2 separate regions of the Homo sapiens genome follow, and region 2 is linked to region 1. Evidence: promoter capture Hi-C in human tissues and cell types (Jung and others, 2019). All regions are on one chromosome and are shown on one strand. The core of a region is centred on a gene start or on the middle of the fragment in contact, and the rest is flanking DNA. Distances in the headings are between cores, read along the strand shown. Region 1 holds the start of ADAM23 (ADAM metallopeptidase domain 23). Region 2 overlaps ADAM23 (ADAM metallopeptidase domain 23).

Region 1 (2,700 bases), core at 74-2,573:
TAGCTCAACATAGAAAGGAAGTTATCTCAGTATTTACCTAACAGTTTTGTAATGTGTGTGTGCGCGCGCGTATATGTCTTCTTCTTTTCTCTTTGTTAAGTGTGAGTGGAGAAGATGATGGCTAACACTGAGTTCTGTCATGGCCATGGCACTTTTATACCCACATTCTTTCTTTTAATCATGGAATTCTCCACCCCAGCCCTCACCCCGTGGATGTCGGAGTAAGACAACATTGTTATCACTCAGATTGTCATTGGGAGGGTGAATAAATGAATGCTTGCATTATGAGAGTTTGGGGGCAGAAATATGCCACAGACTCTTATCTGAAGCCATCAGATTTAGTGGCTGCGAACCCACCGAAGTCAGGGATTTACATTTTTTACAGCAACGAGAGAAAACTTCCCCTTTCCTCTGCAGAAGTCAGGACTGGATCTCAAAAATAGAAATGTGTCCTCCTAAATGTGTGCCCATCCCCGTGGTTGACAAACAACGGATTTCCCAAGATAGCTGCCACACACTTGGTTTCTAATCTCTGTATTGCTTCCCCGCCAGAATGTCGAAGTCCTTCCCGAATATGCCCAGTCATACTTTCTGAACTTTTGAGCAAACACCGTCCGGCTTCTTGTGCTTTCCTCAAAGACCCCAGGCACCGGCAGGGAGGACACAGGCCGGGGCAGAGCGCCCCTGCGCGGGGGATTCCTGCCACTCCGCGCCAGCCTGCGGCGCAAACGCTCTTCTCAGCCGCAGTCCCACCCGCTGCTGGCAATCTGAATGAGGAGCCGCGCTATTTTTACCTCCCCGGCTGCAATCCTTTATATTTACATGCAGGAAGCAAATATATAAGGGATTAAGAAGGAGATGCGTGGCCTTAGTTTATCCAGAGCAGGAAGAGGTTGGAATAGGAGAGGGTATGTGAAGTCTGGGGTGGTGGAAAAGGCAGGTGGACTTCGGCTGGTTGTTTTCTCCCGATCATCCCTGTCTCTGGCCTGGAAACCCCCGTACTCTCTTTCTTCTGGCTTATCCGTGACTGCCGGCTCCCCCTCCACCGCCCCCATCTTTTGAGGTACCACCCGTCACCTCCGATGCTGCTTGGGCTGCTGCATCACTCTGCTGCTTTACCCCCTTCCCCGCCCCCCAACAAAGCATGCGCAGTGCGTTCCGGGCCAGGCAACAGCAGCAGCACAGCATCCAGCAACAGCATCAGCACCCGAAGCCCCGCTCGGGCGCGCTCTCGGGGGGCGGGGCGCACGCCCGCTCCGCGCGTCCCCGCGCCGCTCGCTCCCGCGCGTCCCCGCGCCGCTCGCTCCCGCGCGCCGCCTCAGCATCCTCAGGCCCGGCGGCAGCCCCCGCAGTCGCTGAAGCGGCCGCGCCCGCCGGGGGAGGGAGTAGCCGCTGGGGAGGCTCCAAGTTGGCGGAGCGGCGAGGACCCCTGGACTCCTCTGCGTCCCGCCCCGGGAGTGGCTGCGAGGCTAGGCGAGCCGGGAAAGGGGGCGCCGCCCAGCCCCGAGCCCCGCGCCCCGTGCCCCGAGCCCGGAGCCCCCTGCCCGCCGCGGCACCATGCGCGCCGAGCCGGCGTGACCGGCTCCGCCCGCGGCCGCCCCGCAGCTAGCCCGGCGCTCTCGCCGGCCACACGGAGCGGCGCCCGGGAGCTATGAGCCATGAAGCCGCCCGGCAGCAGCTCGCGGCAGCCGCCCCTGGCGGGCTGCAGCCTTGCCGGCGCTTCCTGCGGCCCCCAACGCGGCCCCGCCGGCTCGGTGCCTGCCAGCGCCCCGGCCCGCACGCCGCCCTGCCGCCTGCTTCTCGTCCTTCTCCTGCTGCCTCCGCTCGCCGCCTCGTCCCGGCCCCGCGCCTGGGGGGCTGCTGCGCCCAGCGGTGGGTATGGCCCCGTGCCCTTTGCGTTGGCTTTCCCGCGGGGCCCTGCAGAGGAAAGCGAAGGGCGCGCGGGTCCGTGTGCTCCGGGCTTGTCCCCGGCTCGGCCTTTCCTTCCCTCCCTGCCTGTCTTTCCACCCTTCTCGTTCCCAAACCCCCATTCATCCCAGTTCACTTTTGGAAGTCCATTTCTGTTGCATTCGCGAAAAACCCATTCCAATTCTTGTTGGTTCCACTGGGAGGTGTTTAGTGGATCCTGGGTCCCTCAGCGATCTCTGTGCAACTTGCGGAGGGGCAACCAGTGGATGGGAAATACAGCGAGGGAGCAAGTTGCTACTTGCGTGGTGGAACCTTAATGTGAATGCGGGGAGGATGTAGTGATAATAGTGGTAATGGGCTGTTTCCTCAAATTTCGTATCCGGCGCATTCAGTGCGGTTGGAATTAAGGTGGGGGAGGCACACTTCGGGGACCAAAGAATTAAGGTGCTGAAGACATACTTCATGCACGACCTTTGGTTCTGATTTCTCAAAGTGCTTGTCATTATAATGAACAATTAATATAATACCATCTTCTATATATTGATGATTGGAAGTCACTGAAAGCAGAAAGCTGGCTTTGTCAGGAAAATAAAAAGAAATTGGGAAGCTGCCAGCATCTGTATCCCTACATGGCAAAGTATGTTTGCTCATCTTAAAGTTAAAAGAGAAGGGAATTGTCCATTTTGTTAAAAGAGTCGATTAATATTCGGTATCCATAAATTCAGTACTCAAGTTATCTTAGGAGCGTTCTTAGCTCTTGGATGGGATGCCACTAGGCAGAGTAGAGTTGTG
Region 2 (2,700 bases), core at 67-2,566, 130 kb after region 1:
AAAAAGGAAGTCAAGAATCAGGGCAGGTAGGGACATGTAGGCCATGGAAAGAATTTTAGATTTCATTCTACCTTCATTTTAATTCTGACATTATTTTAAAAGCATTTCCCCATACTGTTACACAGTTTTTATAGTTAATTCTTTTCACGATTGTATGAGAGTCTGTCATGTGGATTTATCAGTTGATTTATACCCAGTATGGGTATTTAGATTTTGGCAGTTTATTATTAGTAGTATAGAAGTGAACATCTTTGTGCATTTTTAAAAGAGTGTTTCTTGTTCAGGGTTAGCTCCTCAGGACAAGCTCCTAAAAATGGGGTTACCTGTTGCTAGGCATTGTGCTTTCCAAGAGGCTCCCAATAGAGTACACTTGGCAGTCAAAATATCACTTTTATTATTGAAAATGGCCAAGTTGAAGGCTGTAGCTTAATGTGAGGGCTAAAAGTTATCTTTAAGATCCCAGTTCAGGCTATAGCAACAGGTTACTGACAAAATTGGGTCCAGAAGGACAATGTATGGCACGGGGAGCAATGGAAAATGCATGGTTTATGTGGGTAGGCTTGCTTATAAAAGAATGGCAGAACTGTGGCGGAATGCCTAGTTCTTCTTCCCAAGCTTATCATTGGTCAGTCACTCCACCTCCCAATGATGGAAGTGAGTAAGGAGTAGGGGAGCTGGGGTTACACTGAGTTCCTTAACCAGAAGAAAAAATGAGGAGAGAGAAAGAAGGGTTCCTAAGTAACATTTTTGTAAAGGTGTTGATATATATTATTTGAAATTCAATTCAGATGGACCCTCTTAAAGAAATGGTACAGTGAAATATGTTCAGGCCGTGTTTTCATGATTTTTATGCATATCTGTTTCTTACATTTCAATATATAAATAGGTTTTTTTGCAATTTTCTGTAATATAATGACAAAGTATGAGAATTGTAGGTTCTGTGTTTAATGACGTGTATTGACAATACTGATACACTGTTTCAGAGTTATATTTTTAGCTTTGTAGAATACTACTGTTTTTATGTTTACCATATATGGTTTTAAAAACTTCTGTGTATTCAGCCCTTTTAGAGGTATAGTTTTTTCATTTCAATCTTTAACTCTTTAAGTGCCATAGAATTTACTAGAAATAAGATTTTTATGATGAGAACTCTTTGTTTAACCTAATATTCTATTGTCTAAGTAAAACATTTTTTCTTTTTATAGCATGTGTCTAAGCTGAAAATTATACTGTTAAATTAATTTCTCAGTACATATTAGAATAGAATATTTTTGCTAATATTTTTCTAGCATGATCAGGATGAACCTAAAATAGAAGTAGAGGGAGTTAAAACCCCCCAAAATTCTTCTTTTTCTCCTTAAGAAATAATGAGCTTTGAATTTAATTAATACTACTAATAATTAAGAAAATGGAATCTCTACAACTCTGAGAATCAGTATTTACAGGCAACATTATGACTTTATCTCTTTTACCTCATAATGTGTTTTTCTTAATTTTTATATTAGCATTTACTGATGCCTCAGAGCTACTTATTAAACTTACGGTTTATAATAGAATAAACAATACTTACGTAATTAAGAGAAATCCTTGACAAACAATACTGGTGGATGTAATACAGATATTTGAAAGATAGCAGAAATAGGAGAAATGTTTTTTGTTAGTGCTATGAAATATGTCATCTAAGTGGGTAGTATAACATAATTTAAAATAAACACTTCTAAATGCTATTGCACTATTGAAGCCTGCCTGCCTCAAGTGAACCATCCTGTATAGCATAATGTACAAGGAAGGTTCTGGAATGACATTTAGAGACTGAATCCAATGCTCCACTCATAAGCAGAATAAAGTGCACAGATTTATGGTTTTCCTGTTTTAAATGTCCCCAGAGAACATAGTACATTCCCTAATTTCCCTCGTTAAACATTCCCATGATAAGCAACTGTCTTTTATTAGCCTAAACTAAAACCAAATAGATTAGAAATCTCACATGTGGCTATGCCAATTTAGAATAAGGGCATTTTTTCTTTTTTTTTTTTCTTTTATTATTATACTTTAAGTTTTAGGGTACATGTGCACATTGTGCAGGTTAGTTACATATGTATACATGTGCCATGCTGGTGCGCTGCACCCACTAACTCGTCATCTAGCATTAGGTATATCTCCCAATGCTATCCCTCCCCCCTCCCCCCACCCCACAACAGTCCCCAGAGTCTGATGTTCCCCTTCCTGTGTCCATGTGATCTCATTGTTCAGTTCCCACCTATGAGTGAGAATATGCAGTGTTTGGTTTTTTGTTCTTGCGATAGTTTACTGAGAATGATGATTTCCAGTTTCATCCATGTCCCTACAAAGGACATGAACTCATCATTTTTCATGGCTGCATAGTATTCCATGGTGTATATGTGCCACATTTTCTTAATCCAGTCTATCATTGTTGGACATTTGGGTTGGTTCCAAGTCTTTGCTATTGTGAATAGTGCCACAATAAACATACGTGTGCATGTGTCTTTATAGCAGCATGATTTATAGTCCTTTGGGTATATACCCAGTAATGGGATGGCTTGGTCAAATGGTATTTCTAGTTCTAGATCCCTGAGGAATCACCACACTGACTTCCACAATGGTTGAACTAGTTTACAGTCCCACCAACAGTGTAAAAGTGTTCCTATTTCTCCACATCCTCTCCAGCACCTGTTGTTT

What was found. Contacts are between HindIII fragments. The study calls those that stand out against the background at their distance.
Region 2: a contact is called between a fragment that was not itself captured here and the fragment with the promoter of ADAM23 in region 1, in 2 of the 25 tissues and cell types used here (dorsolateral prefrontal cortex and mesenchymal stem cells).

The regions. Positions count from the first base shown.
Region 1 is chr2:206,442,209-206,444,908 of GRCh38, forward strand. It overlaps ADAM23 (ADAM metallopeptidase domain 23), which reads left to right and starts at 1,324. Exons shown (of 26, transcript NM_003812.4): 1 at 1,324-1,872. The coding sequence starts at 1,659. RefSeq lists a silencer at 1,769-1,898. The HindIII fragment of the contact is 14,990 bases long and covers 1-2,700 here.
Region 2 is chr2:206,575,231-206,577,930 of GRCh38, forward strand. The region is part of intron 18 of ADAM23 (ADAM metallopeptidase domain 23); the gene reads left to right. Among named protein-coding and RNA genes, the nearest start is that of FAM237A, 66 kb to the right of the region's middle. The HindIII fragment of the contact is 5,904 bases long and covers 1-2,700 here.